4 separate regions of the Homo sapiens genome follow, and regions 2, 3 and 4 are each linked to region 1. Evidence: promoter capture Hi-C in 16 types of primary human blood cells and fetal thymus (Javierre and others, 2016). All regions are on one chromosome and are shown on one strand. Each heading gives the region's core, a stretch centred on a gene start or on the middle of the fragment in contact. The rest is flanking DNA. Distances are from core to core; before and after follow the strand shown. Region 1 holds the start of MORC3 (MORC family CW-type zinc finger 3). Region 2 overlaps TTC3 (tetratricopeptide repeat domain 3). Region 3 overlaps TTC3 (tetratricopeptide repeat domain 3). Region 4 overlaps TTC3 (tetratricopeptide repeat domain 3).

What was found. Contacts are between HindIII fragments. The CHiCAGO score rates a contact against its expected background, and 5 or more counts as called.
Region 2: a contact is called between a fragment that was not itself captured here and the fragment with the promoter of MORC3 in region 1, in 1 of 17 cell types (M2 macrophages). The highest score is 5.0, in M2 macrophages.
Region 3: a contact is called between a fragment that was not itself captured here and the fragment with the promoter of MORC3 in region 1, in 1 of 17 cell types (M2 macrophages). The highest score is 7.7, in M2 macrophages.
Region 4: a fragment that was not itself captured here is called in contact with the fragment with the promoter of MORC3 in region 1 in 1 of 17 cell types (M2 macrophages); the score reaches 6.9 in M2 macrophages.

What each region holds. Positions count from the first base shown.
Region 1 is chr21:36,317,069-36,321,795 of GRCh38, reverse strand. It overlaps MORC3 (MORC family CW-type zinc finger 3), which reads right to left and starts at 1,599. Exons shown (of 17, transcript NM_015358.3): 1 at 1,493-1,599. The coding sequence starts at 1,531. RefSeq lists a silencer at 1,016-1,475. The HindIII fragment of the contact is 27,571 bases long and covers 1-4,727 here.
Region 2 is chr21:37,112,313-37,116,601 of GRCh38, reverse strand. All of the region lies in intron 11 of TTC3 (tetratricopeptide repeat domain 3), which reads right to left. Among named protein-coding and RNA genes, the nearest start is that of TTC3, 41 kb to the right of the region's middle. The HindIII fragment of the contact is 5,562 bases long and covers 85-4,289 here.
Region 3 is chr21:37,165,604-37,170,074 of GRCh38, reverse strand. TTC3 (tetratricopeptide repeat domain 3) reads right to left here. Exons shown (of 46, transcript NM_001330683.2): 33 at 3,460-4,471; 34 at 2,455-2,520. Among named protein-coding and RNA genes, the nearest start is that of TTC3-AS1, 26 kb to the left of the region's middle. The HindIII fragment of the contact is 655 bases long and covers 1,436-2,090 here.
Region 4 is chr21:37,142,382-37,146,764 of GRCh38, reverse strand. It overlaps TTC3 (tetratricopeptide repeat domain 3), which reads right to left. Exons shown (of 46, transcript NM_001330683.2): 21 at 2,120-2,240. Among named protein-coding and RNA genes, the nearest start is that of TTC3-AS1, 49 kb to the left of the region's middle. The HindIII fragment of the contact is 811 bases long and covers 1,513-2,323 here.

The DNA.
Region 1 (4,727 bases), core at 350-2,849:
TCCGTTTCTCCACTACAGGTTTCTGGGCCTGAACAAGACTCAACCTCGAGAGAGGAAGGAGAGAGAAGTGGGGAAAGGAGATAGGGGAAAGAGAGGGGGAAAAGGGAGGGAGAGAGAATAGAGATTTTAAACTAGGTAAGGCCAGACTTTACAATACCTTAAGCTAATGGGAAAGCGTTAGTCAACCCAGATTCACACAAGTGGGGAATAATTAATGTTTACACTCAGTGGTTAAAAAAAAAAAAAAGAAAAAAAGAATAAAATTGTCCTCTATTTTCAAACTACTAAAGCCTAGCTCACTCAATAAGCTAGTTACATAACGAAAGGATGGACCTTTATCCAGAATACGTAAAGAACTCTTACAAATCAATAAAGATCCTCCCAAAAGAAAAACAGAAAATGGTCAAAGGATATGAATAGGCAATTCAAAAAAACAAAACAAAAAACCACAAAGACTAATACATGCGAAGAGCTCAACAACACAAACAGTCAAGGAAACGCAAGTAAAAGCAAATATCATTTCACAAATATCGGACTAGAAAAAATTTAAAGTCCGTCAAAACCAGGTGTTAGAATCTGCCTAAACGAATGAAAGTCCCAGAGCAATGCACCAATTATTCACTACGTGTTTGTACCCCAAGGAGTCACTACCCATTCGAATGTTAAAATTAGTGGCACTAGGGCAGTCATTCTTTGGCAAAAGTCAACAACCTCCAGAAAAGAGGAACATTTCAGCATAACATCAACTGCGCTCACAAGGTAGAAAAGTTTTTTAGGATAATCAGGTGGGGAAGCCACGCCCACATTTCCTGGACGTGAGATTTCAAGTTATCTTGTGTGACCGCTCCCTACGATTTAAGATACAAGAAATGTTCACAGGGTTTCCAAGAACTCGAAACGCCCCAAAACAGACGCAACGCGGGATAAAGAGGAGAGCTCGAGCTCAGCGATCTAGGGTCTGGGCCCCAAGGCTTCCACTGCCAAGGAAGCTGCAGGCACTGACAGGCATCAGGCACACTCATCCTGACTCCACTCGCCCGCAGGCAGGCCCGCAGCCCCGTCCCCCCGCCCCCGGGACGTCGAGGCCGCCGGCGTTTCTGGACGCGGAACCCGCTCCCTCCCACCACGACGCCCAGCGGACAGAAGAGGGTCAGGGGCCCCGCGGCCCCGAGAGCAGACCGATCTCCCGCCGAGGCCTCGCCCGCGGACGACAGCTGCTGGGAGACTAGGAGGGAGCTGGGAGGAGGAGCCGCGACCCTGGCCCGCCCCGAAGCAAAACAGAAACACAATGCAGAGGCGACGGAACGCAGCCCGGCCCGCAGCCGAGCTGTTCCGCCGACGGGAGCGAGATGGCCGCCCCCTCCCCGGGCCCCGCCGCAGCCCCCGCCGCCGCGTCGGCCCCACAAGCCGCCACCGCCCACTGCCGGCCCCCCTTCGCTTGCCCGCCCGCCCTCCTGGGACACGGCCCGCTCCACCCCTCGCGGCTGCTCACCGCGCTGAGGCGTATCCCGCGGGGTGGCTGCGCCGCCATCTTGAGCGAGCTACAAAGCCAGGAACGGCCTCCGCCGCAACCCGACTGGGAGGTGGCGGAACGACTGTGGAGCCCTATGGGTACCGCCCACTTCCGGGGAGGGGCGCACGTCTGGCCCCTCCCACCCACTTCCGCCTCCAGGCAATGCCGAATTGGGAGCTTGGGGAAGATGAATTGCCTGACTGGTTAAAGCAGGGTACAGTGGGAGCTGAGCTTCCAGCGCGGGGCCCTGCGGGCCTAGGGCGCATGCGCGAGGCGCGGCCGGCCCGTACCCGTCTCGACACCCAGCTGGAGCTCGAGACTCGGGGATCTAGAGTTTGAAGCCTGGCGCGAGATGCGGTATACCCGAGACCGGTGAACTCCAGTCACTTGACCTGGTCGGATGTGAATTGCGCAGAAAAAAGCCATTCCATATCCACCAGTGTCCATGTGAAACCTTAACGAAATAAAGACGGAAATTAATGTAGACTGTTTGGATTTGCCCTGAAAACTATCAATCTAACTCATGATTTAAAAAAAAAAAAAAGAGTTCTGGGGCCGGGCGCGGTAGCTCACGCTTGTAATCCCAGCACTTTGGGAGGCCGAGGTGGGCGGGCGGATCACCTGACTTCGGGAGTTCGAGACCAGCCTGACCAACATGGAGAAATCCCATCTCTACTAAAAATACAAAATTAGCCGGGCGTGGTGGTACATGCCTGTAATCCCAGCTACTCGGAAGGCTGAAGCAGGAGAATGCTTGAACCCAGGAGGCGGAGGTTGCAATGAGCCGAGATTGCGCCATTGCACTCCACCCTGGGCAACAAGAGTGAAACTCCGTCTCAAAATAAATAAATAAGAGTCCTAAAGGCATAAGGCCGGTGCAGTGGCTCATGCCTATAATCCCAACACATTGGGAGGTCGAGGTTGGGGGTTCACTTGATAGGGGTTCAAGACCAGCCTGGCCAACATGGTGAAACCCCATCTCTACTAAAAATACAAAAATTAGCTGGGCATATTAGTGGGCGCCTGTAATCCCAGCTACTCGGGGGGCTGAGGCAGGAGAAGTGGGTGAACCCAGGACAAGGAGGTTGCAGTGAGCCCAGATCGCGCCACTGTACTCCAGCCTGGGCGACAGAGTGAGACTGTCTCAAAAAAATTAATTATTTTTAGAAAGAGAAATTGGCTGGGTGCAGTGGCTCATGTCTGTAATCTCAGCACTTTGAGAGGCTACATTGCGAGGGTCTCTTGAACCCAGGAGTTCGAGACGAGCCTGGGCAACACGAGGAGACCTCATCTTTACAAAAAAAAAATTGAATTAGCTGGCAGGGCGTGGTGGCTCACACCTGTAATCCCAGCACCTTGGGAGGCTAAGGCGGGCAGATCACTTGAGGTCGGGTGTTTGAGACCAGCCTGACCAACATGGCGAAACCCCATCTCTACTAAAAATACAAAATTAGCCGGGTGTGGTGGCACATGCCCGTAATCCCAGCTACTGGAGAGGCTGAGGCAGGAGAATCACTTGAACCCAGGAGGTGGAGGTTGCGGTGAGCCAAGATCACACCACTGCACTCCAGCCGGGACAACAAGAGCGAAACTCCATCTCAAAAAAAAAAAAAAATTAATTGTGCTTGGGGGCGCACGCCTGTGGTTCCAGCTACTTGGGAGGCTGAGGTGGGGAGGACTACTTGACCCTGGGAGACTGAGGCTGTAATGAGCCATGTTCTCACCACTGCACTCAGTCTGGGCAACAGAGCGAGACTCTCGTCTCAAAAAGGAAAAAGAAACAAAAGAGAATGGATTTTTTTTTCTTTTTTTTTTTTTGGAGACCGAGTCTCGCTCTGTCGCCCAGGCTGGAGTGCAGTGGAATGATCTCGGCTCACTGCAAGCTCCGCCTTCCGGGTTCACGCCATTCTCCTGCCTCAGCCTCCCGAGTAGCTGGGACTACAGGCGCCCGCCACTGCGCCCAGCTAATTTTTTGTATTTTTAGTAGAGACGGGGTTTCACCGTGGTCTCGATCTCCTGACCTCGTGATCCGCCCGCCTCTGCCTCCCAAAGTGCTGGGATTACAGGCGTGAGCCACCGCGCCTGGCCTGGATTTTTTTCTTTTTCTAGAGACTCTGTTGCCCAGGCTGGAGTACAGTGGCACAATCATAGCTCACTGCAACCTTGAACTCTTGGGTTCAAGCAATCCTCCCGCCTTAGTCTCCCAAGTAGTTGGGACAACGGGTGTGTGCCACCACACTCAGCTGATTTTTAAAATATTTTTTATAGAGAAAGGGGTCTTGCTGTGTTGCCCATGCTGGCCTTGAACTCCTGGGCTCAAGTGCTCCACCTTCTTTGGCCTCCCGAAGTGCTGGAATTATAGTCGTGAGCCACCATGCCCGATCAAAGAAGTAAGTAACCAGGATAGAGAGGAATTTCCAAAGAATTCAGAGGGACAGCATTCGAGGGAGACACAACTCTGCAATTCCAGAAAAACAACAGCAGAGGCCTAGAGATTTGGAAAGGGCTGCTCATGTTTGAGGAACTGATATGGGACAAGTGTAATTAGAGCCTGGCATTGGAGACAGAGAGTGCAGTAGGATAGTGATGAATTGATGAAGTGCAGTAGGATAGTGATGAATTGATGACATAACCTATTGTACAACAGACTGGTCTGCACAACCTGTTGTACAATAGAGTATGTCTTCAAATTTTCCTAAGGTTGAGAGGATTCTGGAAAGATAGTGTGAGGACATGGTTTTTGAGCCACCCCAAAAATACCACTACATAAATCCCTCCATAAAAACACATAGAGGGCTGGGTGTCATGTCTCAAGCCTGTAACCCCAGCACTTTGGGAGGCTGAGATGGGCGGATCACTCGAGCCCAGGAGACCAGCCTGGGCAACATGGGGAGACCCCATCTCCACAAAAAAAATAAAAAAATTAAAAAATTTTCTGGGCGTGGTGGTGCACACCTGTAGTCCTAACTGCTCGGGAGGCTGAGGTGGGAGGATCGCACTCCAGCCTGGGCAACAGAGTGAGACTCTATCTCAAAAATAAAAAAATAAAAAAAACAGCTAAAAGGCATCCTCATCAACCCCAAGACAGGAGCAAGTGGAACAACATGCACGAGTGTGTCCGTTTAAGAACAACAGAGGGGGGAGTAGCAAGATGGCCGAATAGGAACAGCTCTTGTCTGCAGCTTGTCTCCCAGTGAGACCAACGCAGAAGGCA
Region 2 (4,289 bases), core at 1,616-4,115, 790 kb before region 1:
CCTGACTTCAAGTGATCTGCCCGCCTCAGCCTCCTGAAGTGCTAGGATTACAGGTGTGAGCCATCATGCCTGGCATCTAAAGCTTCACTTAAAAAAAAAATATTTTTATAATTTAGGAAAATACAGAGACTAATACACAGATACCCAGAATTAACTGTTAACATTTTGTTATATTTGCTTCTGATTTTTAAATGAAATAAATAAAACTATTTCTGATGATACAGATATGGCTGAAATCTCCTTTGTACCCTCTCCAATCTCCTTTCCCTCTCTTACTGCCCAGAAGCAAACACTATCATGAACTCGATAGATATTTTTCCAGCCTATGTTTTATTGACTTTTTCATTTAACTTTTTAAAATCCATAAATGTTGATAAGCCAGCTAATTCAACTGCAATCTACTATTTGATTCATTCAATCACTAAGTCAACAATTATTTACTAATGAGTGCCTGCTAAGTAAGTGTCAGGCAGCTTGTCAGACAGTCTGGATTCAAGAGTGAAGTGAACCAAACACCAAAAAAATCTTTCCTTGTGGAGCTCATATTATACTGGAAGACACACAATAGCCACTATAACTCAAACAGTAGATATAATGTATTAGATAATGGTAAGTCCTAAGAAGAAAAAAGTAAAGCAAGGAAAGAAGATAAGAAATGCGTAGGAAGTGAGGTGTTTGGCATTTTAGTAATGAGGCCAAGGAATGTTTCACTGAGAAGAGTCCTTTCAATATCGACTGAAAAGAAATAAGGGGGCTGGCCAACGCTCTGGGGAAAAGCATTCTAGGCAGAGGGAAGGGCAAGTACAAAGTGGAAGTGGGCCTGGAATGTCTGAGGAACAGTGAGGATGCCAAGAGGCCAAGATAAAGTGAACCAGGGACAGAGCAGGAGCAGTGAGGTTGGAGAAACAACAAGTGTTCAAGACGGGGACAGATCACACAGGTCAGAGTAACAACTTTGATCAAGTGAAAATACCACATTTATCTGCTGCTTTATCAATAGACATGTAGGTATTTGCAGTTGTGTGCCATTAAAACAATGCTGCAATGACCAACCTTGCATATCAAACCATGTGCACATTTGCAAGAAATTTTCTAGAGCACACACACTCAGAATCAAGTAACTGTGGAGTCTATTATAGTGCTCCCTGACTTGGTTGTAAGCAATCACACTCCCACCAGTTTACTGGGGCTTCCTGTTACTACACATACCCACCAACACCAGACTATCAGCCTCTTTAATTTCTGCCAATCTGAAGGACTCAGACAATATGACATTGTAATATTTACTCACATAGTGGGTTCTGTGTGGAGGCCCTCTATTCTGCACTATTGGTTTCATTCTTTTATCTGTGTACCAAATCCCTACAATTTTAATTACTAGGAAATAGAAATAGTTTCTTTATTATTATTATTATTATTATTATTATACTTTAAGTTTTAGGGTACATGTGCACAACGTGCAGGTTTGTTACATAGGTATACATGTGCCATGTTGCTGTGCTGCACCCATTAACTCGTCATTTAGCATTAGGTATATCTCCTAATGCTATCCCTCTCCCCTCCCACCTCACAACAGGCCCCGGTGTGTGATGTTCCCCTTCCTGTGTCCATGTGCTCTCATTGTTCAATTCCCACCTATGAGTGAGAACATGCGGTGTTTGGTTTTTTGTCCCTGCAACAGTTTGCTGAGAATGATGGTTTCCAGCTTCATCCATGTCCCTACAAAGGACATGAACTCATCATTTTTTATGGCTGCTTAGTATTCCATGGTGTATATGTGCCATATTTTCTTAACCCAGTCTATCATTGTTGGACATGTGGGTTGGTTCCAAGTCTTTGCTATTGTGAATACTGCCACAATAAACATATGTGTGCATGTGTCTTTATAGCAGCATGATTTATAATCCTTTGGGTATATACCCAGTAATGGGATGGCTGGGTCAAATGGTATTTCTAGTTCGAGATCCCTGAGGAATCGCCACACTGACTTCCACAATGGTTGAACTAGTTTACAGTCCCACCAACAGTGTAAAAGTGTTCCTATTTCTCCACATCCTCTCCAGCACCTGTTGTTTCTTGACTTTTTAATGATTGCCATTCTAAATGGTGTGAGATGGTATCTCACTGTGGTTTTGATTTGCATTTCTCTGATGGCCAGTGATGAGCATTTTTTCATGTGTCTGTTGGCTACATAAATGTCTTCTTTTGAGAAGGGTCTGTTCATATCCTTCGCCCACTTTTTGATGGGGTTGTTTTTTTCTTGTAAATTTGTTTGAGTTCATTGTAGATTCTGGATATTAGCCCTTTGTCAGATGAGTAGGTTGCAAAAATTTTCTCCCATTTTGTAGGTTGCCTGTTCACTCTGATGGTAGTTTCTTTTGCTGTGCAGAAGCTCTTTAGTTTAATTAGATCCCATTTGTCAATTTTGGCTTTTGTTGCCATTGCTTTTGGTGTTTTAGACATGAAGTCCTTGCCCATGCCTATGTCCCGAATGGTATTGCCTAGGTTTTCTTCTAGGGTTTTTATGGTTTTAAGTCAAACATTGAAGTCTTTAATCCATCTTGAATTAATTTTTGTATAAGGTGCAAGGAAGGGATCCAGTTTCAGCTTTCTACATATGGTTGGCCAGTTTTCCCAGCACCATTTATTAAATAGGGAATCCTTTCCCCATTGCTTGTTTTTGTCAGGTTTGTCAAAGATCAGATAGTTGTAGATATGTGGCACTATTTCTGAGGGCTCTGTTCTGTTCCATTGGTCTATATCTTTGTTTTGGTACCAGTAACATGCTGTTTTAGTTACTGTAGCCTTGTAGTATAGTTTGAAGTCAGGTAAGCATGATGCCTCCAGCTTTGTTCTTTTGGCTTAGGATTGACTTGGTAATGTGGGCTCTTTTTTGGTTCCATATGAACTTTAAAGTAGTTTTTTTCCAATTCTGTGAAGAAAGTCATTGGTAGCTTGATGGGGATGGCACTGAATCTATAAATTACCTTGGGCAATATGGCCATTTTCACAATATTGATTCTTCCTACCCATGAGCATGGAATGTTCTTCCATTTGTTTGTATCCTCTTTTATTTCATTGAGCAGTGGTTTGTAGCTCTCCTTGAAGAGGTCCTTCACATCCCTTGTAAGTTGGATTCCTAGGTATTTTATTCTCTTTGAAGCAATAGCGAATGGGAGTTCACTCATGATTTGGCTCTCTGTTTGTTATTGGTGTGTAAGAATGCTTGTGATTTTTGCACATTGATTTTGTACTCTGAGACTTTGCTGAAGTTGGTTATCAGCTTAAGGAGATTTTGGGCTGAGACGATGGGGTTTTCTAGATATACAATCATGTTATCTGCAAACAGGGACAATTTGACTTCCTCTTTTCCTAATTGAATGCCCTTTATTTCCTTCTGCGTGATTGCCCTGGCCAGAACTTCCAACACTATGTTGAATAGGAGTGGTGAGAGAGGGCATCCCTGTCTTGTGCCAGTTTTCAAAGGGAATGCTTCCAGTTTTTGTCCATTCAGTATGATATTGGCTGTGGGTTTGTCATAGCTAGCTCTTATTATTTTGAAATACATCCCATCAATACCTAATTTACTGAGAGTTTTTAGCATGAAGCGTTGTTGAATTTTGTCAAAGGACTTTTCTGCATCTATTGAGATAATCATGTGGTTTTTGTCATTGGTTCTGTTTATATGCTGGATTACATTTATTGATTTTCATATGTTGAACCGGCCTTGCATCCCAGGGATGAAGCCCACTTGATCATGGTGGATAACCTTTTTGATGTGTTGCTGGATTCGGTTTGCCAGTATTTTACTGAGGATTTTTGCATCAATGTTCATCAAGGATATTGGTCTAAAATTCTCTTTTTTTGTTGTGTCTCTGCCAGGCTTTGGTATCAGGATGATGCTGGCTTCATAAAATGAGTTAGGGAGGATTCCCTCTTTTTCTATTGATTGGAATAGTTTCAGAAGGAATGGTACCAGCTCCTCCTAGTACCTATGGTAGAATTCGGCTGTGAATCCATCTGGTTCCGGACTTTTTTTGATTGGTAAGCTATTAATTATTGGCTCAACTTCAGAGCCTGTTATTGGTCTATTCAGAGATTCAACTTCTTCCTGGTTTAGTCTTGGGAGAGTGTATGTGTCGAGGAATTTATCCATTTCTTCTAGATTTTCTAGTTTATTTGCGTAGAGGTGTTTACAGTATTCTCTGATGGTAGTTTGTATTTCCATGGGATCAGTGATGATCCCCCCTTTGTCATGTTTTATTGTGTCTATTTGATTCTTCTCTCTT
Region 3 (4,471 bases), core at 514-3,013, 850 kb before region 1:
ATCTTACAAAAAATTTTTCCCGTTTTTTTCCTGGATACTTTTATAGGTCCATTTTTTATGCTAAAATCTTTAATCTGCCTGGAACTTATTTTGGTATAAGGAATGAGGTAGGGACCAAGATTGATTTTTTCTAGATGGCAATCCATTTCTCCTATGTATTTAATAATCCAGTTTTTGCTCACTGATAATTTGCCATCTTCGGTTTTGTTTTTTGTTTTTTTTTTTTTGAGACAGAGTCTCGCACTGTCGCCCGGGCTAGAGTGCAGTGGCGCAATCTTGGCTCACTGCAACCTGTGCCTCCTGGGTTCAAGCGATTCTCCTGCCTCAGCCTCCCAAGTAGCTGGGGTTACAGGTGTCCACCACCACGGCCAGCTAATTTTTTTTAATTTTAGTAGAGATGGGGTTTACTATGTTGGCCAGCTGGTCTCAAACTCCTAACCTCGTGATCCACCCACCTCAGCCTCCCAAAGTGCTGGGATTACAGGCATGAGCCACCACACCCAGCCAATCTACCATCTTGATTGACTGACTGAGATGGAGTCTCACTCTGTCGCCCAGGCTGGAGTACACTGGCGTGATCTTGGCTCACTGCAACCTCCGCCTCCCAGGTTCAAGCAATTCTCCTACCTCAGCCTCCCAAGTAGCTGGGATTACAGGTAAGCTACCACACCTGGCTAATTTTTGTATTTTTAGTAGAGACGGGGTTTCAACATGTTGGCCAGGCACTCTCATATTAATGGTCTATGTATGTGGTAATATAGATAGATTTATATTGTGTTTTGATATTTAGTTGCACAACTCCTTTTCTTAGTTTCTCTTCCATACCCATTCTTGATGTTCATTTTTACATATGAAGTTTAAAATCAATTTGTCTAGTTTCAAATTAATCCTGTGCAGTAACCAGGCCTCTTGTTAGTCACAGCCTTGTATAGACCTCTCCTACCATGTATCAGGGTTGGTGGATTGATCTATGTGACCAAGAGAATGCGCAGAAGTGATAATTTGTGACTTCCTAAAGCACTGCCGCTTCTGCCTGGTATCACACACTCTGGGAAAAGCCAGCCCCATGAGGTCAAGCAGGGCTAGGTGGAGGTCCACAAGGCAAGGAACTGAAGCTTCCTGACAACTGCCAACATCCGCTTGCCAGCCATGTGAGTGAGCTATCTTGGAAGTAGAACCTCTGGGCCCAGTTACTCCCGCAGATGACCAAGCCCTGGTCAACATCTTGGCTAGCTACATGAGAATCTCCAGAAGCATCCAACTAAACTGCTCCTGAATGCCTGACTTAGCGAAATTGTGAGATTTCACAATTGTGAAATATTTTACTGTTTTAAGCCACTAGCTTTTGAGGTTGTTTGTTATATATACAGCAATATACATAACTAATTTGCCCTGTTCATGTATATACTGGGATTGTGTTAAATTTTAAAAAGCTTTAGGGAGAACCAATCTCATTATCATAATATGTGTTCTTATCCAAGTACATGAAATATCTTTTCATTTAAGGCTTCTATGTGTCTCTCCATAGCATTTAAAAATTTTTCTTTATATACATTTAAGTATTTTATCTCTTTTTTGGTATTGAAAATATTTTCTTTCAACATACTTTCTAACAGGTAATTGTTTATATATATTTTTATATACAAGTATAGGTTTATATAGGTTAGTGTAGGTTTTCAGTTGATCATTTTGGATTTTCCTGGTACACAGCCCTAGCCTCTGTAAATAATGATACTCACATCTCCTCTTTTCTATCTTCTTTCTTTCTCATATCTGCTTTCTCAGTTAATATACCCAGGATAACAATAAATATTAATGGTGATGTTTTACCATTAAGCAAGATGATGGCTTTTGGCTTAAAATATTAGCATGTTGAGAAATATTCATCAATTCCCATTTTCTTACTAGTTTTGGTCAAGACAGTGACCTGAATTTTATCCAATACCTTTACAGCAACTTTGAGTTGATAAGACAACTTTTCTCTTATGATGCATATTAACGAACTAAATTATATTAGTAGGTTTTCTAATTGAATCATTATTATAGTAGAGAAGGTCTTTATCTTTCTGTATTATTCGCATGAATAAGCTTACTTATAAATTATTATATGCTCATTATACCAGTTAAAACAATAAAGCTGGCCAGCCTGGATGACAGTGAGACCGTGTCTCAAAAATAATTAAAATAAAAATAAATAAAATTTTAAAAATAATAAAATAAAACAATAACGCTGTTATAATTTGAAATAAGTATGCTGGAAAAAAATTACCTTTTCCTTCCCTTCTCAAATTTCAACAATAAAAACAAAATCATTTTTTTGTTATGTTCTCAAGCTTATTCCATGATAACTTTGTGTGGAATAAGCTGACTCCAAAATAGTTCTAGTTCATCATTCCATCTAGATAAATTAATGAAAACTAAACCTTTAAACAGTTTAATGTAATTTTGACTCACTTGTCGTTCCTCAAAAGGATTATATGGCTCAGTATTGACTTCTTGGTGTATTATGTTCCAAGATACCTGTGGGCAAAACAAAAAATAAAATTCACTTTATCTCAATCGCTCTAGTAAAATAAGCCCATCAAGTAGTAACACTTTAAAACACACCCACAATTTTTTCAAGTTTTTTTTCCCATTTAGATCATGTTCCATGCTTTCCGTAAACATGTATATTAGGAAAGTTATTTAGAATTAGCATATCTGGAAATGATTATGATCCATTGCTCTTAACCTATTTTTTTCAAAGCTTCCTAGAAAACATAATGAGTGGGGCAATTCAATAAGGATTTAATGAATTCATACCCTATAAAGGCAACCATAGGAGAATCTTGATTTCATCTCTTCCTTGTTAGGAAAGAACTCATACACATCCCTCTTGTTTCTACCTGGCTGTCTCTTTTTAACATTCTCATTCCTCCCCTGGTTTGACAGGAGAAGCTGGGCCTGTGTAGGTCAGAGTCTTCCTTTTTCCTTCTCTTTCTGAGGAGCTGCCAGCACATTTTCCCTTCCTCCTTCATGCGCTAAGTCCTATGGGGCAGGCACCCCACGCTGGAAGGCCTCCAGGTGGGCCCTCCTGTAACTGGCAGGTAAGGCACTGTGATGCAGGCTACACTTCCAGCTAGCACTTGAACTTTCCTACAAACAGCCACCTTCTCCTCCAGCACCTTTATTAATTCTTAGGATGACGTTTTGGCTCCACCTGCTGTCTTATTTCTCAATCTGTGTAGAATTTCAGTAGCAAAGATGGGTATTGTTTATTGGACCCAAGCTTCTTTCTGAGAAGATTACCTGTCATGCCTCACAAAAGAGTTCATATTTTAAAAGTATTTTCAGGCAAAAGCTTCAGTAATCATTATAAAGTCAATCAACTTTAAGGATTCTTGCAAATATAACGGCAATGAAAAATGAAAAGGAAAATTTAACTTCAGTATTAAGAAGACTTTTCTATTTAACTCTTACCTGTATGGCAACCATCTGCACGTGTGGAATGTTTGTTACTGCACTGGTGCTTTCTGGAATTACTTCACATTTGTTGTTAGAATTTCCACAGTGCTCATCATTTCTGTTAGACTCACTCAGGACTGTATGAGCATCACCTGTGCTGCAGTGTGACTTTACAGATATTCCCAAAGAGCCCTCAAGGATCTGTGTTTCAGAGGCAATCTGGTGACCAGCAACATTCTCAGCATTCAAATGATGACCCTCAAAATAGGCAGCAGCATTTTTATCTGCTCTGTCATTGGCTACAAAAGACGGCACCACTGGTACTGATCTTGGTAGCTGATATTCAGGAGAAAGGCTGGCCAAGGGTGTATATATGCTGGTGTACTGGGGCAAACCTGGTAACACGTTTATGTATGCTGGCGGTGTCTGGGTGATATCAAATCTCTGGAAAGGAAGATACGTACAGTATCCTGTGACCAAATGGGATTGAGCCCAATAAGTTGGTTTCACATCCTCAAGAACCGGTTTGGGGGAATTACAGGAGACTCGCTTGTAATTTGCATCCTCAGAGCCTGGTTTAGGAGAATTAGAAGAGACCCCTTTGGGTTGCCCATCCTCAGAAACTTGTCTAGAAGAATTGTCGGATACTGGTTTGGCCTTCACATCTTCACAAGCTGGCTTGGGAGAATTTGCAGACACAGGTTTGGGTTTCACATTTTCAAAAGCTGGTGCTGAAGATGAATCTGACACTGGTTTAGACTTTACATCTGGTTTAAATTCCCTAGCAGCTGGATTCAGTTGTAGTTTAACTCGTACATACTCCCCTGCTTTTGAAATTTCTTCTACTTTTGTTTTAATGTTTTTCTTCTTCCTTTTTTTCTTGAGCCGTGATGCAACCTTCTTCAGTGCAATACAGTTGTCAATCACAACAAAACGAGGGCATCCCAAGAGAAAAGGTTTTAAACCTCCTGCTTTTTCTAGTATCTGTCGAGTTTCTTCTGGGAAAAACTCATATTCTGCAGAGAAC
Region 4 (4,383 bases), core at 669-3,168, 820 kb before region 1:
CTAAATTTAGAACATTTTCAAAAAGAAACTCCATACGCATTAGCAGTCCCTCCTCATTTTCCCCTAACCTTCCAGGCCCAGCAATCACTGGTCTACTTTCTGTCACTATATACAGACTTGCTTATTCTGGAGATTTCATAGGAATGGACTCACACAAGCCCTTTGTGTTTGGCTTCTTTTACTTAGCATAATGTTTCCAAGGTCCATCCATGCTGCAGCATGTTATCAGTACTCTTTTTTTTTTTTGAGACAGCGTCTCACTCTGTCACTCAGGCTGGAGTGCAGTGGCACGATCTCAGCTCACTGCAACCTCTGCCTCCTGGGCTCAACTGACCCTTCCACCTCAGCCTCCTGAGTAGCTGGGACTACAGGCATGTGCCACTATGTTTGGCTAATTTTTGTATTGATGGGTTTCGCCATGTTGCCCAGGCTGGTCTTGAACTCCTGAGCTCAAGCAATCCTCCTGCCTTGGCCTCCCAAAGTGGTAGGATTACAGGCGTAAGCCACCAAGACTGGCCATTTGTTTTTGAGGCAGACTCTCACTCTGTTGCCCAGGCTGCACTGCAGTGGCACAATCAAGGCTCACTGCAGCCTCAACCTCCCAGGTTCCAATACTTACGTACCCATTTATCAGCTCACGAATACTTGGGCTATTTCCCATTTTGGGCTATTATGACTAATGCTGCTATGAACATTCATGTACAAGTTTTTGTGAGAACATGTTTTCCTTTCTCTGTACACACCTAGGAGTGAAACTGCTGGATCATATGGTATGCTACAGTTTGAATGTTTGACCCTCCAAACCACACATTGAAATCTGATCCCCGGTGTTGGAGGTGAGGCACAGTGGGAGGTGTTTTGAGTCATGGCGACGAATCTCTCATGAACAGATTAATTCCCTCCCTGGGGTGAGTGAGTTCTCACTCCATTAGTTCCCTAAAGAGTTGGTTGTTAAAAAGAGCCTGGCACTTCCCTGTCTCTCACTATATGATCTCTACAGACAGGCTCTCCTACGCCTTCTGACATGAGTAGGAGCTATTGAAGGCCTTCACCAGCAGGTGCTGACACCATGCTTCTTATACAGCCTGCAAAACCATAAGCCAACTTTTCTTCATAAATCACCAGTCTCAGGTACTTCTTTATAGCAACACAAATGGACTGAGACATGGTAACTCTATGTTTAACTGTTTGAGGAACTGCCAGACTATTTTCCAAAGCAGCTGCATCATTATACATTACCACCAGCAGTGTCTGAATGTTCCCATTTTTCTACACCCTTGCCAATATTTATTGTCTGCCCACATCCTAATGAGTGTGAAGTGGTATCTCACTGTGGTTTTGATTTGTGTTTCTCTGATAGCTAATGATGCTGAATGTCTTTTCATGTGCTAATTTTGGCCATTTGTATATCTTCGTTGCAGAAATGTCTATTCAGATCCTTTGACTACTTCTTAGATTATTTGTCTTTTTATTATTGAGTTGTAAAAGTTGACTTCTGTGATTTTAAAAGCTTCAGCCAAAATCAAGTTCTGAGTACATGTGAGAGTTCACTACAAGTAAAAGCCTATCTCAGTCATTTCACACGTAAGTCTTTCTAGAACAAGCAAAGCATCTTTATGCTTCTGGATATGAGACTAAATTCATATTTTTCTAAATCTTCAAGTACCATCTCAGTAACTGTGGTAACTTTATGATGAAACAACAATACTATACCTTCCTCTAAGTACAACCAAGTCCAGCAGAGTGCATGATCATGCATACTCAGAAGTCAGAATGCCTGGACTCAAGTTCCAGGACCACAATTTGCTTGCTGTTTCACCTTGAGTGCATCATTTCACCTCTCTAAACTTAACCTTCCTCATCTGTAAAATGGGAATGATCACAGTGCCCCCCTGCACGGGGCTGCTATAAGGATTAAGCATAATGATAAATGAAGGTACACACTGGCACACAGAAAACATTCAATAAATGTCAGAGATTCTCATTAGACAGTAGAGGGGAAATGCGTGTAAGGGAGGTGGGGATGGAATGCTCCTACCTCTCCGCCTCCTGATACCTGAGTCAGTCAATGCAGATAAGCATTCACAGTAAGAAACACTCTGCAAAAATAAATGGTTACCTTTATTTTTTGTGGCTGAGACTCTTCAATAATCACATTACTCGTGGGCCAAGTTAACACTCCAGGAAGACGATAAATCAAGGTTCTTGCTTTCTCAAAGTGATTGAGAGCTTCTAGAAATCTAAAGTCATAATTATGAAAAAGGCATTAAAGATGTAAAATGGTATTTTCACTCCCTTCAAAAGTCACCAAAGATCTCAAGCTTACTGGGACGAATACATTTGATGAATCACTGAACAGCAATATTCAATGTAACCTAAATTTTCTTTAAAAAAACAAAGTCACTATTGCTGTTTGCTATAAAAGTAATATACATTAAACACAACTCGTCTTGGACACTGGCTTTATTGTGGCAGGTGTACACTTTTTTGTTGTTTGTTGTTTATATATATATATTTTTTTTATTATACTTTAAGTTCTAGGGTACATGTGCACAACGTGCAGGTTTGTTACATAGGTATACATGTGCCATGTTGCTGTGCTGCACCCATTAACTGGTCCTTTACCTTAGGTATATCTCCTAATGCTATCCCTCTCCCCTCCCCCCACCTCACAACAGGCCCCAGTGTGTGATGTTCCCCTTCCTGTGTCCATGTGTTCTCATTGTTCAATTCCCACCTACGAGTGAGAACATGCGGTGTTTGGTTTTTTGTCCCTGCAACAGTTTGCTGAGAATGATGGTTTCCAGCTTCATCCATGTCCCTACAAAGGACATGAACTCATCCTTTTTTATGGCTGCTTAGTATTCCATGGTGTATATGTGCCACATTTTCTTAATCCAGTCTATCACTGAGGGACATTTGGGTTGGTTCCAAGTCTTTGCTATTGTGAATAGTGCCGCAATAAACATATGTGTGCATGTGTCTTTATAGCAGCATGATTTATAATCCTTTGGGTATATACCGAGTAATGGGATGGCTGGGTCAAATGGTATTTCTAGTTCGAGATCCCTGAGGAATCGCCACACTGACTTCCACAATGGTTGAACTAGTTTACAGTCCCACCAACAGTGTAAAAGTGTTCCTATTTCTCCACATCCTCTCCAGCACCTGTTGTTTCTTGACTTTTTAATGATCGCCATTCTAACTGGTGTGAGACGGTATCTCATTGTGGTTTTGATTTGCATTTCTCTGATGGCCAGTGATGATGAGCATTTTTTCATGTGTCTGTTGGCTGCATAAATGTCTTCTTTTGAGAAGTGTCTGTTCATATCCTTTGCCCACTTTTTGATGGGGTTGTTTTTTTCTTGTAAATTTGTTTGAGTTCTTTGTAGATTCTGGATATTAGCCCTTCGTCAGATGAGTAGATTGCAAAAATTTTCTCCCATTCTGTAGGTTGCCTGTTCACTCTGATGGTAGTTTCTTTTGCTGTGCAGAAGCTCTTTAGTTTAATTAGATCCCATTTGTCAATTTTGGCTTTTGTTGCCATTGCTTTTGGTGTTTTAGACATGAAGTCCTTACCCATGCCTATGTCCTGAATGGTAATGCCTAGGTTTTCTTCTAGGGTTTTTATGGTTTTAGGTCAAACATTGAAGTCTTTAATCCATCTTGAATTAATTTTTGTACAAGGTGCAAGGAAGAGATCCAGTTTCAGCTTTCTACATATGGCTAGCCAGTTTTCCCAGCACCATTTGTTGAATAGTGAATCCTTTGCCTATTTCTTGTTTTTGTCAGGTTTGTCAAAGATCAGATAGTTGTAGATGTGTGGTATTATTTCTGAGGGCTCTGTTCTGTTCCATTGGTCTATATCTCTGTTTTGGTACCAGTAACATGCTGTTTTGGTTACTGCAGCCTTGTAGTATAGTTTGAAGTCAGGTAGCGTGATGCCTCCAGCTTTATTCTTTTGGCTTAGGATTGACTTGGCAATGCGGGCTCTTTTTTGGTTCCATATGAACTTTAAAGTAGTTTTTTCCAATTCTGTGAAGAAAGTCATTGGTAGCTTGATGGGGATGGCATTGAATCTATAAATTACCTTGGCAATATGGCCATTTTCACGATATTGATTCTTCCTATCCATGAGCATGGAATGTTCTTCCATTTGTTTGTATCCTCTTTTATTTCATTGAGCAGTGGTTTGTAGTTCTCCCTGAAGAGGTCCTTCACATCCCTTGTAAGTTGGATTCCTAGGTATTCTCTTTGAAGCAACTGTGAATGGGAGTTCACTCATGATTTGGCTCTCTGTTTGTCTGTTACTGGTGTATAAGAATGCTTGTGATTTTTGCACATTGATTTTGTATCCTGGGACTTTGCTGAAGTTGCTTATCA